Regions from separate parts of the Homo sapiens genome. Here regions 1, 2, 3, 4 and 6 are each linked to region 5. Evidence: promoter capture Hi-C in 16 types of primary human blood cells and fetal thymus (Javierre and others, 2016). All regions are on one chromosome and are shown on one strand. Each heading gives the region's core, a stretch centred on a gene start or on the middle of the fragment in contact. The rest is flanking DNA. Distances are from core to core; before and after follow the strand shown.

Evidence for each region. Contacts are between HindIII fragments. The CHiCAGO score rates a contact against its expected background, and 5 or more counts as called.
Region 1: a contact is called between a fragment that was not itself captured here and the fragment with the promoter of ECRG4 in region 5, in 6 of 17 cell types (non-activated CD4 T cells, naive CD4 T cells, total CD4 T cells and 3 more). The highest score is 12.1, in non-activated CD4 T cells.
Region 2: a fragment that was not itself captured here is called in contact with the fragment with the promoter of ECRG4 in region 5 in 6 of 17 cell types (total CD8 T cells, non-activated CD4 T cells, naive CD4 T cells and 3 more); the score reaches 12.9 in total CD8 T cells.
Region 3: a fragment that was not itself captured here is called in contact with the fragment with the promoter of ECRG4 in region 5 in 6 of 17 cell types (naive CD8 T cells, total CD8 T cells, naive CD4 T cells and 3 more); the score reaches 8.4 in naive CD8 T cells.
Region 4: a fragment that was not itself captured here is called in contact with the fragment with the promoter of ECRG4 in region 5 in 1 of 17 cell types (non-activated CD4 T cells); the score reaches 7.2 in non-activated CD4 T cells.
Region 6: a contact is called between a fragment that was not itself captured here and the fragment with the promoter of ECRG4 in region 5, in 4 of 17 cell types (non-activated CD4 T cells, naive CD4 T cells, total CD8 T cells and 1 more). The highest score is 8.5, in non-activated CD4 T cells.

Annotation. Positions count from the first base shown.
Region 1 is chr2:105,843,087-105,846,084 of GRCh38, reverse strand. The region is part of intron 2 of NCK2 (NCK adaptor protein 2); the gene reads right to left. Among named protein-coding and RNA genes, the nearest start is that of NCK2, 100 kb to the right of the region's middle. The HindIII fragment of the contact is 6,296 bases long and covers 1-2,998 here.
Region 2 is chr2:105,861,914-105,864,780 of GRCh38, reverse strand. All of the region lies in intron 3 of NCK2 (NCK adaptor protein 2), which reads right to left. Among named protein-coding and RNA genes, the nearest start is that of NCK2, 120 kb to the right of the region's middle. The HindIII fragment of the contact is 237 bases long and covers 1,192-1,428 here.
Region 3 is chr2:105,897,654-105,900,447 of GRCh38, reverse strand. No RefSeq gene overlaps it. Among named protein-coding and RNA genes, the nearest start is that of NCK2, 150 kb to the right of the region's middle. The HindIII fragment of the contact is 4,848 bases long and covers 1-2,794 here.
Region 4 is chr2:105,880,470-105,883,459 of GRCh38, reverse strand. It overlaps NCK2 (NCK adaptor protein 2), which reads right to left. Exons shown (of 5, transcript NM_003581.5): 4 at 1,411-2,132. Among named protein-coding and RNA genes, the nearest start is that of NCK2, 140 kb to the right of the region's middle. RefSeq lists enhancers at 993-1,771, 1,772-2,552. The HindIII fragment of the contact is 926 bases long and covers 902-1,827 here.
Region 5 is chr2:106,064,422-106,067,153 of GRCh38, reverse strand. ECRG4 (ECRG4 augurin precursor) reads right to left here and starts at 1,466. Exons shown (of 4, transcript NM_032411.3): 1 at 1,311-1,466. The coding sequence starts at 1,389. The HindIII fragment of the contact is 9,592 bases long and covers 543-2,732 here.
Region 6 is chr2:105,819,695-105,822,410 of GRCh38, reverse strand. All of the region lies in intron 2 of NCK2 (NCK adaptor protein 2), which reads right to left. Among named protein-coding and RNA genes, the nearest start is that of NCK2, 76 kb to the right of the region's middle. RefSeq lists an enhancer at 72-121. The HindIII fragment of the contact is 538 bases long and covers 1,092-1,629 here.

The sequences.
Region 1 (2,998 bases), core at 144-2,643, 220 kb after region 5:
CTGGTGCCAGCATTTTGGAAAATCAACATAAATTTAATAAGCCAATTTTCTTACATGATGTTAACTGTAAACAAATGAAATTCCATATAACTGCACTGGAATCAACACTGCCTTCTGCCAAGCCAGAAGACAGCATGGTGAAGGGGTGAAGAGGAAATACCAACAATGGGAAAATACCCACGTATGAAAATGGACATAGATGTCTTTGGTGGAACTTGGCTTCTTAGGAAACACAAGTGAGGTCTTTTCAGGTAGTGCATACTCCCTGCTCCCAAAGTAGACGGATAACAGTCACCATTTTTAGCGGTTTATCAGGCCTTCCTATTTTTTTTTCACAGCTGTAAGGTACTTGTAAATTTTGTAACTTAAACATCTACTTCAAAAAAACCTCGGCTGGGCGTGGTGGCTCACATCTGTAATCCTGGCACTTTGGGAGGCTGAGGTGGGTGGATCATCTGAGGTCAGGAGTTCGAGACCAGCCTGGCCAACATTTGAAACCTCACCTCTACTAAAAATACAAAAAATTAGCCGGGCATGCTGGTACATGCCTGTAATTTCAGCTACTCAGGAGGCTGAGGCAGGAGAATCACTTGAGCTCAAGAGGCGGAGGATGCAGTGAGTAAAGATCAGTCACTGCACTCCAACCTGGGTGACAGAGTAAGATTCATCTCAAAAAAAAAAAAAAAATTCAAAATATAAATGTCATGAGTTTCCTCAGTTCTTACAAATGAATTCAGCTACATTAATCAATATCTGACCTTTTTCCTTGCCACCTTGTTACTCACGATTCCCTGCCTGATTTTGAAACATGCAAGGTTGAAACAAGAAGCACAGTGATTTTTAAAAACAGATTCCACACTACCCAGGTCTCATAATGTTAAAATATTATTAGGCTACTAAAATCATTTTAGTTCTGCAGATTTATATGGTTTATGCCCACATTCCTAAGCATGGTATCTATGCTTTAGATTTTCCTATTGAAGTGGGAGAGTGGATTATAGAAAGCCCCTCTGCACCCCGCTCTAGGGACAAGAACCTGTACCTACCTGCCAGCAGGGACCCTGTGTAGGAGAGGGGACATGGGTTACTTTGGGTTTAATTACTATAGACACCTCTATAAATGAGTTTGGAACAATAAATGCTAATATTTATTCCAAATGTAGAATTCTGTTAAAGAAACCATCCCTATCATTTAAGAAAACAGAATGAGGAAATAAAGGTTTCTAGCATCTGTGCTTGATATTTCAAAATATATATATCTATTTTTATGTATATATATTTATATATTCTTTTATATACATATATACATACATACATATATATATATATATATATATCCCCCCCCGCCCCAAGACAGAGTCTTACTCTGTTGCTCAGGCTGGAGTGCAGTGGCGCGATCTCAGCTCACTGCAACCTCCTCCTCCTGGGTTCGAGCAATTCTGCCTCACCCTCCCGAGTAGCTGCAATTACAGGTAAGAGCCTCCATGCCCAGCTGTTTTTTTTTTTTTTTGTTTTTTTCTACTTTTAGTAGAGATGGGGGTTTCATCATGTTGGCCAGGCTGGTCTCCAACTCGACTTCATAATCCGCCCGCCTCAGCCTCCCAAAGTGCTGAGATTACAGGCGTGAGCCACCATGCCTGGCCCAAAAATATTTTTTAGACTAAAATAGGTTCCTTTATTATTAACATATTACATTAGTATGATAAGCATGTTACAATTAATGAACCACTACCCATACATTAACTAAAGTTCATGGTTTATTCAGATGTCCTTAGCTTTCCCTTAATGTCCTTTTCTTGTCCCAAGATCCCACCCAGGATCCCACACTACATTTAGTTGTCACGTCTGCTTAGGCGCCTCTTGACTGTGGCAGTTCTCAGACTTCCCTTTTTTTTGAAGAGCATTGGTCAGGTATTTAAAGAATGTCCCCCCACCCGTTAGGATTTGTCTGATGTCATGAGAAAAACATCAGACAAATCCTAAGTGGGGGACCTTCTGCAAAATACCTGATCAGTGCTCCAGTATTAGCTTTTGGGAGGAAGACCACAGAGGCAACATGCTATTCTCATCTTACCATATCAAAGGTCAACATGGCTTAGGACTGCAGACTGCTGATGTTGACCTTGATCACCTGGCTGAGGCGGTGTTTGTCAGGATTCTCCACTGAAGTTACACTTGCCCCCTTCCATGCTATGCTCTTTGGAAGGAAGTCTCCAGGAACAGCCCACGCTTAAGGGTGGGGAGTTAACTCTTCCATCTCCTTGAGGGCAAAGCATCTACATGAATTATCTGGAAACCTTTTGCACAGGAGATTTCTCTTCCCCTACTAATTAACGTATTCCATCATTTATATCACTGTGATCTTACGGCTATTTTATACTCTGGGCTACCATCCAATATTGCTTTTTCTTGAATTGTTCCAGCTTTGTGTATGGGAGCGTTTTCAGCTGGCTACTGTGTCCCTGTGACGTATCACCATCACTGCGAGTGTTCGTTCGTTTGTTTCTTTGAGCACATCCTTACTTTCTGGCACCACAAGATGCTCTGGGCTTTTCTTGCATATTTTCTACCCCAGTCCCAGAATCAGTATATCTGCCTTGATTGTAACCAGCAGTACCTGTAGTCCACTTTTTACACATGAATCCTTTACAAAATAAAGAGGGGAGGGCTAGGTTTTTTTTTTTTTTTTCTTATGGGACCACAGTACAGAAATACAGGCTAAGAATCCCTAATTCAAAACTCCAAAATCCAAAATGCTCCGAATCCAAAACTTGAGCACTACAAGTGAAAAATTCCACATCCAACCTCATGTGATGGGTCACACATATTATTAAAAATATTATATGAAATTACCTTCGGGCTATATATATATGAAACATAAATAAGGTATATATGAAACATAAATTTAGCATTTAGACTTGAGTCCCATTCCCAAGATATCTCATTTATGTATATGTAGATATTCCAAAACCTCAAAAAATTCTGAATGCCCTAACAC
Region 2 (2,867 bases), core at 61-2,560, 200 kb after region 5:
GGGCCAAACTCATGTGTGAAAGGGACAAAGAAGAGAAGGCCAGGTCCAGTCTTTAACATGAGAGAAATTGAATGCCTGGCTGAGGTACCTAATCAGCTGCCTCAGAAGTGCCAGCTCTCCGAGGTAGGCCCTGGATTACATTATCTTTACACATCTGAAAATGAAAATTCACTGACATAAAGAAGTATGTCATAAGGATAACTGTGTACCTCCCAAGCCTGAGATTCACACCTGCAGCCTTCTCTGCATCCTACTGACGTCCCACCCTAACCTCAAACTCCACTACGCACCGTGGCTCAGTCTCCTCTTACTTCCCCCACTCTCTGGGTCACTGTTGGTCCTTCAGGCTGGAAACTCTTGAGTCATTCTAATACTTCTCCGAGGTGTTCCCCATCCAGTCAACAGAGTCCTAGGGGTTTTCCTTCAAAATCTTCCTTTTCTCTTTTGTCCTCCATCCCCACAGCTGAGCTCAGGGCTTGGGATGTCACCCTGGGTCACTCTCAGGCCCCGTCCCCCACCTCCCACTGCCAGGCTCAGGCCCTTCCAGTCGTGTCCTGAAGACAAGGATCAGGACCCCTGCCGGACACCCCAGCACTCATCTCCCCCTTAAGCCCTGTGGAAACCTCCGAGGGTTCTTTTTTCACACCCAGGGCCTTTACGGTGTGGCATGCCCCACCCCAGAGGCTGCCCCAGCCCTCTTGCTCACCCCAGTCCGGCTGGCTCGCCGATGGCCTTCCCCACACCTATGGGTTTCCGTCTTCACATCCTCACTTGCACTCTGCATCCCTCAAGTGAGACCCCACCCCCCCTCGCCAAGTCTCAACCCAGCTCAGAGTATTCTTCACATGAATGACTTCCTTCAGTTCTCAAAAACTTTATGAGACAAGCAGTCACGTATCCCGTTATACAGACGACGCAACTGAGGCTCAGAAGCTTCAGCGGCTTGTTCAAAGTCACTCAATGATTAAGAGCAGTAGGTGGCAAAGCCTGGATTTGAATGCAGGTGATCGAAGACTCCAGAGTCCTCCCTCCTGCCCACAATGCTACATGCTCTCTGAAAGCACAGGTGCCCGAGCTGCATAACTCAGCCCTAGTTTCCCATTGGACAGGAAGGGACAGTGCTATTGTTTGAATGAGGACTGTCCATCTTGTGCCAGTATTATTTTCCCGATTATATTACAAATACAAGCTTCAGAAAGTCAGGGACTAAGCCTTATCCTTCCTTCACATCCCGACCAGATGAAATAACATCTGACCAGGCTCCCCCTTCTGATCGGAACACACCCTATTACACTGTTGGGGTTGCTGCATCGTGTCTGCATCCCTGTTTCAAAGCCTTTGGTTACTGTTCTCAAAGGTCACTCACAGCAGAGAATGCAGTGGCTCAGACGGGATTTCCAAGGGATAGAGAAAGGGACAACTGAAGCTTAGACTCGGCTTCCACGAGAACCAGGCTGCTGCATTTGTTACCCACATTTCATTTCAGAGATGAACAGCTCTGCCCTTGTTGAGACCTGTGAGAATATTTATAATCACGATGACAGACCCACAATCCTATAATGCCGAAATGAGAATTTCCGATTTCCCAGCAATCACAGAGGCTGTGAGCCCAGGAGCTCAAAACAGCCTGGGGTGACCCAGCAAGAAGCAGAGATGGTTTTCACTTGCATGCTGGGGATATAGATATGATGAATAATTAGAGAAAGTTCTGAATCATGTACTGTTAGAACCATTCTGTGAAGCATCAGCTGGGCACGTTGACATCTGGTATTATTCTCATGTTCTAAGTCCAACTGCAGCAGATACTCGATGATTCTTTCTGGCCTCTTAAAGGCTTATGCCAAACTTAGGGCACTGCCCAGGCACAGCAGGGGAGCCCAAGTCTCCAGACTCCCAGCTACCTTTACGGCCTAGGGTAGTCTCTAAACCACTGCTGATATGTCTGCTTCTTTTAGTGCACAGGAAAATTACAAAAACGGCGCAAAAAACATTATTTTCCCCAAGCCATTTGAGACTAAGCTGCCAAGACGATGTTCCATTACCCGAATACTTTATGTGTATTTCCACAAATAAGGGCATTCATCAAAATCAGTAAATTTATATCAATACATGACTATCACCTCACCCTTGAACCCCTTCAAGGCTTGCTAGTTACTCCCGAGGTTTCTCATTTCTAAAACAAAGAACTTGGTATAATTCTGACTCTGGGACAGAGTCCCCCCAAACGTACAAAGCGGCCTACCACTAAATCCAGATAGTCAATTTGGTAGAGGAAAAATAATTCAGATTAGATCTGAAGTCCCCTCTGGGTCTCGTACCTGTGACTGCTGTGTTCTCAGGCTTCATTTTTTCATCTGTGATTAGTAACACTACTGAGGCTGGCCTGGGGTGCTATTACATATTTTCATATGAACTGGACATTTTCATAAATTTATGTACCATGTAACTAAAATCTTGCTTGACTACTCGACTAACCTGGGTCTTTTGATCTAAGTAAAATCAGCATGCTTAGTATGAAGCACAGGCTCAAGACCGACCCCCTTCCCACTAGTCTGAAGCCCTCTAATTCTTCCTAGACATAATTCTAGAGTCTTTACCACTGATATAAAAAAATGCCTGTAAGTGTTAAGCCGCCTGGTAAATTGCAAAGTGCTGTATAAATTGCAAGCTGTTGCTGCTCTCATTACATGTATTTATGCAGGCTAACCCTAACTAAAGGGCCTTTAGTTACCCGGGGCAGGGCTGCCTTCCCTGGTTGCAGTTTACAGCCAGTTACCCTGATCCCCACCTGCTACTTCTTGTAGCCATTATGCAGGTGGAAGAAAGGGAAGGGGGGAGCGGGCAGGAGGGAGGGAGGGAGGGAGGGA
Region 3 (2,794 bases), core at 258-2,757, 170 kb after region 5:
AGACCACAGCACAATAATATTAGAGATCAAGACTAAGGAAATTGCTGAAAACCATATAATTACAAAGAAATTGAATAACCTGCTCCTGAATGACTTTTGGGTAGATAATGAAATTAAGGCAGAAATCACAAAGTTCTCTGAAACTAATAAGAACAAAGATACAACATGCCAGAATCTCTGGGACACAGCTAAGACAGTGTTGTGAGGGAAATTTATAGCACTAAATGCCCACATCAAGTTAGAAAGATCTTAATTTAACAACCTAATATCACAACTAAAAGAACTAGAGAACCAAGAGCAAACCAACCCCAAAGCTAGCAGAAGACAAGAAATAACCAAGATCAGAGCTGAACTGAAGGAGATAAAGACACACAAAAAAATTCAAAAGATGAACAAATCCAGGAGTTGGTTTTCTGAAAAAAAATTAATAAAGCAGATAGACTGCTAACTAGACTAATAAAGAAGAGAGAAGATCCAAATAAACACAATTAGAAATGACAAAGGGGATACTACCACTGACCCCACAGAAATACAAATCATCATCAGAGAATATTATTAATACCTCTATGCACATAAACTAGAAAATCTGGAAGAAATGGAAAAATTCCTAGACACATACACCCTCCAAAACTGAAACAGGAAGAAACTGGATCCCTGAACAGACCAATAATGAGCTCTGAAATTGAATCAGTAATAAATAGCCTATCTAACAAAAAAAGCCCAGGACCAGATGGATTCACAGCTGAATTCTACCAGACATACACAGAAGAGCTGGTACCCATTCCTACTGAAACCATTCTAAAAAATTGAGTAGGAGGGACTCCTAACTCATCTATAAGGCCAGCATCACCCTGATACCAAAACCTGGCAGAGACACAACAAAAAAAGCAAACTTTAGGCCAGTATCCTTGATAAATATTGACACAAAAATCCTCAACAAAATACAGGCAAACCAAATCCAACAGCACATCAAAAAACTTATCCACCATGATCAAGTAGGCTTTATCCCTGGGATGCAAGGTTGGTTCAACATACGCAAATGAATAAATGTGATTCATCACATAAACTGAACTAAAGACCAAAGACAATTATCTCAATAGATGCAGAAAAGGCTTTCAATAAAATTTAACACAACTTCATGTTAAAAACTCCCAATAAATGAGGTATTGAGGGAACATACCTCAAAATAAGTGATCTATGACAAACCGACAGCCTATATCATATTGAATGGGCAAAAGCTGGAAGCATTGCCCTTGGAAACTAGCACAAGACAAGGATGCCCTCTCTCCTATTTAACATAGTATTGAAAGTTCTGGCCAGAGCAGTCAGGCAAGAGAAAGAAATAAAGGGCATCCAAATAGGAAGAGAGAAGTCAAACTATCCCTGTTTGCAGATGACATGACCCCATATCTAGAAAAACCCATAGTCTCAGCCCAAAAGCTCCTTCAGCTGATAAACAACTTCTGCAAAGATCCTTCAGCTTATAAACAACTTCTATAAAGTCAACATACAAAAATCACTAGCATTCTTACACACCAACAACAGTCAAGCCAAGAGCCAAATGAGCAACAGAATCCCATTCACAATTGCCACAAAAAGAATAAAATACCTAGGAATACAGCTAACCAGGGAGGTGAAAGAGCTCTACAAGAAGACCTGCAAAACACTGCTTAAAGAAATGACACCAACAAATGGAAAAAAAATTCATGCTCCTGGATAGGAAGAATCAATATTGTTAAAATGGCCATACTGCCCAAAGCAATTTATAGATTCAGTGTTGTTCCTATTAAACTGCCATTGACATTATTTACGGAACTATAAAAAAACATTTTAAAATTTATATGGAACCAAAAAAGAGCTGAAATAGCCAAGGCAATCCTAAGCAAAAAGAAGAAAGCTGGAGGCATCATGCTACCTGACTTCAAACTATACTACAGGGCTACAGTAACCAAAACAGCATGGTACTGGTAAAAAAAAAAACCAGACATATAGACCAATGGAGGAACAGAATAGAGAGCCAAAGAATAAGGCCACTACACATGCAACCATCTGATTTTTGACCAAGTTGACAAATGACAAGCAATGGGGAAAGGACTCCTTATTCAATAAATGCTGCTGGGATAACCGGCTGGCTGGTGAAGAAGATTGAAACTGGATCCCTTCCTTACACCATATACAAAAATCAACTCAAGATGGATTAAAGACTTAACATGTGAAACCCAAAATTATAAAAACTCTGGAAGACAACCTAGGCAATACCACTCTGGACATAGGAACAGGCAAGGATTTCATGACAAAGATACCAAAAGCAATTGCAACTAAAGCAAAAGTTGACAAATGAGATCTAAATAAACTAAAGAGCTTCTGCACAGCAAAAGAAACTATCCACAGAGTAAACAGACAACCTACAGAATGGCAGAACATTTTCGCAAATTCTGCATCTGACAAAGGTCTAATATTCAGTATCTATAAGGAACTTAAACAAATTTACAAGAAAAAAACCCACCTCAATAAAAAGTGGGCAAAAGACATGAACAGACACTTTTCAAAATAAGACATACATGTGGCCAACAAACATGAAAAAAAGCTCAGCATCACTGGTCATTAGAGAAATGCAAACCAAAACCACAATGAGATACCATCCCACACCAGTCAGAATGGCTACTATTAAAAAGTCAAAAAAGAACAGATGCTGGTGAGGTCACAGAGAAAAAGGAACACTTTTACACTGTTAGTGGGAATGTAAATTAGTTCAATCATTGCAAAAAGCAGTGTGGTGATTCCTCAAAGACCT
Region 4 (2,990 bases), core at 115-2,614, 180 kb after region 5:
CAAACTCAAAAAATTTTAAGCCAAGATCATATTTTGTGCATTATACTTAGCCCTTAAGGACTCTGGACCAAGCACTTAATATTGTAATTGGTTTTCCAGCGCTTTCTCTAAGTTTCTGCTCGATTGAGTTAAAAGCGCTGCTGTCCTTAATTTGCTTAAGGCTTCAAACACGATCTAAAAGAAGTGGTGCACAGAGCTCTCGTCATGTGAGAACAATTCAATGTGATGTCTTGCCAGGAATGATAAACTCTGGTGACTTGATAAATCTCAGAGTTCAGATTTCAGATGAAGTTAGCTTTCAGCCTGGCATTCCCGTCCAAGCACATGTAAGGCTCCGCAAAATTGATGACACCATAAAGGAGTCCAGTTTCCACCACCACGATGCTCCGTCCTCAAAGAGAGCACATCCCAGTCGCCTCTCTCTGGAGGGCTTTGAATGCCTCTCTGATCAGTCAACAGGACCCTTGAATGAGCACTTATTCATTGTGCCAGTAATCTTTTCAGAGGACAGCAGTGGCAGCAGGTAGTACATACTTACTAGTCTTATAGCGTGCATTTAAAAATGAAATTGAAGCCTCCTAGAACCAATACAATTCAAATACATTAAACTCTATCTCCTAAATGCTTGTTTTGGAAGTCTCTCGATTGTAGAAGGTGTATTCGGAAAGACGTTTGCAAAACTGGTCGAGTATTTCCTTCACACACGAAAAGCCTGCCTTCTGGGATGCAGGCTTGACCCCATGCCTGAAACTCACCGCCCCCAGCCTGCCCACCGCTGAACTGGGTCTGCTGCCCCAGTCGAGTGGCCTCATATCTCCGACTCACTGCACACAAACAAAACTCATCTCTCCCAAGAACCCCTGTTTTCTTTTCAATTTATCTCGTAAGTGCTTTAAAAGCTTTTGAGAGATGAACTCAGTGGCGCTGCCTGCCGTGGCAATGACCTTGGGATTATATGGTTTACAAAGAGAAAGCAAGCAAACAACAAAAGGAGGTGTCAGAAACCAGCCACCAGTCTTGCAAAGAATGCTTTCTCTGGGACACAGACCGAATAGAAACAAAGTAAATCACTCGGGCCTTCTACGTACACAGAATGGGCAACCAGGAGAGAAAATGATGTTTGAGCCTGTGAAATACAAGAGGGGGAATCTTGGGAGAGAAGCAGAACCACCTCTGTGAGCTAAAAACATCTTTTTAGTTAATCTCCCACCTCCAGAAATGGACACCCACTATCCCCAAAACAGATGCAAGTAAATCACGGAGTAGCAAACATTATACTAAATTGCATTCATCTGCGTCTCCCGCTCTTTCTAGTGTACTCACACAATGTGAAAAGGGCGCGGCACACAGACCCACCGCGCAAGGCGCATTTACTGCCTGCAGCCGGAGCTGTGGGCGCAGCGCACTTACCGAGGACTCGCTGTCCCTAATGAGGAAGTCGCCCTCCACGCCCCGCTCGTTGAGGGCGCACTCGGCCTGGTGCCGCGTCACGTTCCCGTAGTACCACTCTCTGCCCGCGAAGCGCCCGCTGGACGAGGGCCCGGTGTAGCTTATCTGTGGGGCGTGCGCAGGGTGCAGGGCAGGCCCGTCACTGAGGACCACCACGTAGTTTTTGGGGACGAGGCCCACCTGGCCCCGGGCATTTTTGCATTTCCACCACTCGGGGTCGTTCTCCGGCTTCTCAATCACCTCCATGGTCTCCCCCTTCTCGAAGTTGAGCTCCTCCTCGGTGACTGAGCTGAAGGGGTACAGCGTCTGGACCACATGCAGCACGCGGGAGCCCTGGCCATTGCTCAGCGAGGCGCCCTTGCGCAGGCTCAGGAAGCTTGGGGACTCCGCAGCCGCCTCGTCCACCTCCTCCAAGACGTAGTTGGAGGGGAACCAGCCGATCTGCCCGTTGTAGCTGCCCCGCCACCAACCGTCGCTGCACTTCTCCATGACGGTGACGCGCGACCCCTTCACCAGGGACAACTCATCCTCCCGCTCGGCCACATAGGCGAACTTGACGAAGGCCGGGATGTTGAGGTCGTAGATGCGGTCGGCGCCGCTGCCATTGGCGGGGTACTCGGCGTCCGTGCTGGGCGTGGGGGACGCATCCCGCGCGCTGGTCTTCCTGCGCGTCTTGCCGAGGCCTGTGGAGACACAGCAAGGCTCAGTGGCGCAGGGCACTTGGGCACCACCACACTCCCTAGCCTACCGGGATTTCCACGCAGTTTCTCTGGCGGTTAAATACAAGGGGACGACACATGGACAGTGCTTACAAACTGTAATTACCATGAGAAAAATACGGTTGCTGGCAGCTGCCTCCTGTAGTTGCGAAGTTACTTAAAGTTGAGAATTAAATTGATCTATTTTATCCATAAAAACATGTCACAGGGCCAGCACAGTGGCTCACGCCTGGAATCCCAGCCTTTGAGAGGCCCAGGCGGGAAGATTGCTTGAGGCCAGGAGTCTGAGACCAGCCTAAGCAACATAGCGAGACCGTGTCTGCAAAAAAAAAAAAAAAAAAAAAAAAAAAAAAAATTAGCCACCTGTGGTGCACATCTGTGGCCCCAGCTACTGGAGAGGCTGAGGTGGGAGGATGGCTTGAGCCAGAGTTGAGACTGCAGTGAGCCATGATCGCTCCACTGCACTCCAGCCTGTGCAACAGAGTGAGGCCCTGTCTCTAAAACCAAAAAATGCGGGAATACCAGTGACACAAAAGATAACAAGAGTAGGTGGTTTCCTTCTGAAATAACCATTTTTAGAGCATCCCTGCGCCTCTCAGAAAAATAAAGTATAAATGCAGAGAAAATATCTTTTTCATTCCTAGAATGGGTGGGAAGTCAGACTAAATGAATTCAAAGACCCGTTAGAACTCTAAGACCATCCAGTCTTAGGGAACGCAGCCTGTATAACCTGCCCTGCCCCCAGCTGCCTTGCCGCTGCCTCCTCCACTCCTGGGACACTCACTGCCCCCACCCTCACCCCTGGGCAGCATAACAGCCCTA
Region 5 (2,732 bases), core at 217-2,716:
CGTCTGGCATTTTTAGTAGAGACGGGGTTTCTCCATGTTGGTCAGGCTGGTCTCGAACCCCCGACCTCAGGTGATCTGCCCCCCCCCCCCCCCCGGCCTCCCAAAGTGCTGGGATTACAGGTATGAACCACCAAGGCCGGCCCAGATGTGCTTCTTAAAGTGGCAAGAACAAAGAGTGGGAGGCAGGTAAACCATACAACGGGAAATGACTGATTAGCTTCGCCTGTGATTCTAAGGTGGAACAATAATCCTCCCCACCTGAACAGACCTCACCACGCCTCCTGCTGTTTTAGCAACCCCGGGGCTCCATCCCAGGGCTCCTACTGAATGTCCCCTGCCTCTTCTCACCTCGAGTTCAGTTTCCATACCTGTTTCGAATGAGCAAAATACAGAAACTGAGCAACCGAGTGAGCCTCCCTTTTACATTAGGCAGTGCCCAGCTGCTTTGCAGTGGGACAGCGCCAGTCTCAGGCTCTTGGGCAAGTCACTTCATACACCAGTAACTCTGAGGTAACAATCCCTGCCTCCCCTAGTTGTAAGCTTCAAAGGCAGTCATGTGTCCTTGAGGCCACTTGTGAACCATAAATGTTCCTCCTACCCAGTGAAGGTGGTAACTCAGGACAAACCACGGCTTCAGATTATGGTTCCTAAAGTGGGGCCTGTGGAGCCCAGCGATCAGATATCGGAGCACCCATCATTCTGGGTGTGCGTGTGAATGCACGTTTTACAGAGAGCGAGCAGAGAATTTCAGAGTTTTCAACCGATTCGCTGGGAGCTCCACGAAGCAGGAAAGATTAAGCATTACTCCTTTAAGAGCCTTTCCCCTCTCTGGGGTGTGAGGCCTGTGCCCAGCTTTGCAAATTGCAACTTGACCCAGCTGGGAAGCGCAAGTCAACTTGGTTGCTAAGCGACTGCCTGGAAGGGAATGGCGGTGATGGTGCCATTTGCCTCCTCTGGGTTACCAGCTGCGTAAAGCCCCCACAACCCTTTTGCCCCTTACGTTAAGCCACGAAACACTACTTGCCCACCCTTCGGACGCCTGGCCCTCCTTGCCCAAGGTTGCCCGGGAGATCTGAGACCCTCCCCTTGACCCCGGTACTCTCTCCACCCTCACAAGGGCACCACTTCGCACTTGTGCGAGTGCAAAACCCCAGACCCGGTCCTCTACCACCCCTTGGCCCTGCCTAGGCTAAGGATGGGTCCCTACGCCGCCACCCCATCACCGATCGCTCTCCCCGGGCACCATGGAAGCGCCACATGGGGCCAACCCCTGGTGCCGCTATCAATCAGCCTGGCATCGCCCCGCTCACCTGGGCCCCAGCACAGGAGCAGGAGCAGCGCCAGCCCGGTCAGGGCCAGGACAGCAGGCCGCGCGGGGGAGGCAGCCATGGCGGCGGGGCGCGAGCAGGAGGGCGAGGGGCGCACTTCGAGGTGCTGCGAGGGAGAACCGGGCGCGGGAGAGGGGTGCGAGCGGGCAGGCGCGGCCGCGGGTTATCCCTGCGTCGCTGCCGGGGCGGGACCCAGCGGGTGGGCGCCGCGCCAGAGGGCTGAGGGCCAAGCGGCTGCGCCCAGCGCACGGGCGAGTACCACCGAGGTCCTCTCTCCCGCCCCGGCCCCAAGGGGAACGCAGCCCCTGGGCTCCAAGGCCAAGGATGCTTGGCCACGGAGAACCGCCGGCGGCGGGGGCCGCGTGGCCAGCGCTGCCCGCAGCGAAAGCGGTTAGGACAAGCTGGGTTCCGGAGACCCAAGGAAGGGCAGAAGGCATCGGGAGAAGGGACGAGGCCCCCTGGCCACTCAGAGGGAGGACTTGCCGGATCCCAGCGCTGGGGTGTCTCCTTGGCTCCCCCACTTCCTCCGCCCGCCCCAGCCGCGCCACTGTTCCCCTTACTCCTCACCCCTTTCTTCCCTATCTCCCTCCCTCCCTGCTTGGGGGCCTTGCTTCTGCCTGGTTTGTAAAGTGGGCTTTGGAATTTCCTTAGTTCAGAGCTGCTCTTAAGGATGCCTTAGGCGGGGCTGTTTTTGAGATAGTTTGAAAGATTCCACAGTCTGGGTTCAGAGCTGCAGTCCGGGAAATCGTCTCACCCAAACTTCTCCAATAGAAAAGCCTTTGAGAAACCAGGAACCTGGTGCCCTGCAGCTGTGAGCAAAACCACTGCTTCCCTTTGCCCGCTCTGTAATCTGGGCACACTTCAGCGAGCGATGTTAAGGTGAGACCCAAGGGAAACGCAGAACTGCATCCCAGTAACTGGCCTGTTCAACTGTAGAGGACACGTGAAAGGAGGCGTAGTGAACAAAAACTAGAACAACTTTATCCCAACGGACTCTGAGCGGGTCACCTAATTATTCTCTCCAGGCCTGGGCTACAAAAGGATGGAGATGTGAGATTACCTTTCCTGTCTTCCCATCTCAGATCTGCCCTGAACTGAGCTGATTACCTCTTTCCTTCACCAAGGTTCTCACTTATTTTCCCCTCCCTGAGACGGAGTTTCACTCTTGTTGCCCAGGCTGGAGTGCAGTGATGGGATCTCAGTCACTGCAACCTCCAACTCCGGGGTTCAAGCGATTCTCCTGCCTCAGCCTCCTGAGTAGCTGGGATTACAAGGCATGTGCCACGAGGCCCAGCTAATTTTGTATTTTTAGTAGAGAAGGGATTTTACCATGTTGGCCAGGCTGGTCTTGAACTCCTGAACTCAAATGATTCACCCGCATCGGCCTCCCAAAGTGTTAGGATT
Region 6 (2,716 bases), core at 111-2,610, 240 kb after region 5:
AGAGAACTTCTCTTTTGGCAGGTCTGATGTTAAGCTGGGGATCCCCAACACAAGGCGACTCTGAGCACCATCCTGGGCCTCCATGGGTGGAGCTGGAAGCCACAGGAGCTGTTAAGCTGATCCTGGTGCTTCAGGAGCAGCAGAGGCCCTCGGGGGATTCAGGTTCCCAGCTGGTGCCCCCTTCTCAAACCTCCCAAAGTCTTCCTTCACACACCCTTACGTTTCCAAAGAACTCTCCAAACTGCACTTAGTTGCAGGAGATTTTTCTAGGGGAGAAAAAAATAAATCTCACGAAATTCCTGGTACAGTAAGAAAGAAAGGCTTTTTTGGGTCAGGAAATGGGAGCTCCCAGCCTGCTCTGCCACCTAGGAGCCCCGGCCAAGTCATTTAATCTCCCAGAGCCTCACATTTCAGTTTAAGGTAAGCACTTGGAGAATGGGTCGTTACCATGTCACCACCATCATGTGTCAGAGACAGCAGCCCGGGAAGCAGAAGGAACGTGGGCTGGTAAGCAACAGACCTTCTGCTTCCCGGGCTGCTGTTAATAGATGGGGACACAAAGCCACAGGAGAGGTTAAGGGGACTCTCCAGAGTCACACAGTTGAGCATGCACAGCTGTGGACAGTCTCCTTAACCTCTCCTGAGGCTTTGTGTCCCCATCTATTAAATGGGGGCAATAACATCTGCATTTGCGACTAGAGATAATATACAAGCAGTGACAAGCCCTGTGCCGGGCACCTGCCAACGATGACCCCATAGATTACAGCTGCTTCCACTGACTGCACCACCGGGGCACTGTGGAATCAATGTGGCAATGTTTTCCCAGCAGCTGTCAATACTTACTGGGCAATTATTTAACCAATTACCACAGATTTATCCGCAGCATTAAAGGCTGTGGCCATCTCTTTATATTCGGTACACTGTACAGAAGAAACAATCAGTCCAAACTGCAGAGACTGTTCCCCCAGATCACCCAGGGGTCCAGAGTGCGGCAGAAGGAGGCTGAGATGGGCCCATTTATTTGGGCGGAAACTCCACAAGTTACTTCCAGGTATCATGAGACCTCCAGAGCTACACCCTCAACAGAAGCTTTAGCCCTAAAATCTTAATGACTGAGCACTGGGCTTTGCGTGTAAAAAATCTTTCTAAATAACCTGTTGGGGGCAAAGTCAGCTACCAGCAATCTCCAAAATACCAAACAACCAGGATATGATAAAAGTGAGTAGTAAATTCCAGATGACTTTTCCAAGTGTACACACCCTAGGAAAAATTGTTCTGAAATAAATTGAGGATAATATGAAGTAGTAAACTTTAGTAGTTAAATAAATATTACTGGATAGCGTTTTTATGGATGTAAGAGTGACAGGCTCAATGTTTCATCTTCTCATGCTCACTGCTCAGTTAAACACAGCTGCTGCTGCTTCTATCACAAAATGGAAAAGATGTGTGTAGGCTCACTGCTGACATTTACACGCTGGACATGCACATCACCAACTGACTCGGTTTGTGAAATCCCGTCCTGTTTACTCAAACTTGAGTTGTGTCATCTAAGCCACTGTCCTTCCTATCCCACTACACCATCCTTCTGTCCATTAGGACATGTCTGTCATGAAAAAGCCTCCAAAAGCTTTTCAAAAGTCAAACGAATCTGCAGCATAGCAGACAAGGCCCTTTGCATCTTCCGTCCCTAGTAATGGCCAGCCTCCAACAATCAATTACAGTCACTTTTCAAGTACACACGGGAAGAATTAAGTGCAGATTATGCGTTTGCCAAAATGACAACTCTGGTGGCCTTCTGGCTCTTCCTATGGTCTCCGCTCCCCCAAAGAAGGCAGGGTCAGAGCCGCAGGGTCCCAAGACTTTGTTCCTTAACTTCAATGGGGAGACCAGAAAACAGGGTAGGGAAATGCACCACGTGGAAATGGGCTGAGACGTTACTCAAGCCCTCAGACACCGCCATCCTCCTCAAGCTGCTCTCAGCCCAGCCCCAGGCACGCAAACCTTGAGTGTCCAATAACTGGGAAATGCATCCAAGGCTGACATCCCGCTTACTGTTCTACCAGGCCAGCATTTATTTCACTTCTTTCTGACATGCCGAAGTGTATGGCTGACCGAGCTGTTGCTTTCCCTGTTGGCACTTCAAGGACCACCGACCAAATGGCAAATGCCTGGTCCCCAAGCCAGTATTGTCTGAATGACCTGCAGTCTCCAGGAACCATGGCCCAGCTGGTCCAATCAGCCTGCCCTGTTCCAAGGAAACACATTATACCTCTGTACACGTCTCCTCATTCTTTAAAACTTATTCCCAACGTAACATCTCCTGGCTTTTCCATACTGTCCCCTAAAGGGTCAGTTGATCCCTGCCTCAAGTATTAGGGACTGGCTGTAAGAACCTCCACTACAGCAGTTAGCACAGTCCCAAACTGTCAGGGTCCCATCCTGAAAGGGCATGGGGAAAGGTGGCTGGGACTATATTTTATCTATTTTTTTTTTAACTGCTACAACAGTCACTGCAAGAAAAATAGCCCAAAATACAGGTGGGGTGTTCACAATAGATGTTTATTATATGAATGGCTACATCTCACGATTTTCCAAATGAACATTTTTCTAAACCACAAAAGTAAATTTTAATAGGTGAATCAAGGTTTTGTGTGGAACTTATAAACTTATGAAATAAAAGTAATCCTTTAAAATTACATGGGTAGATATTTTTGTA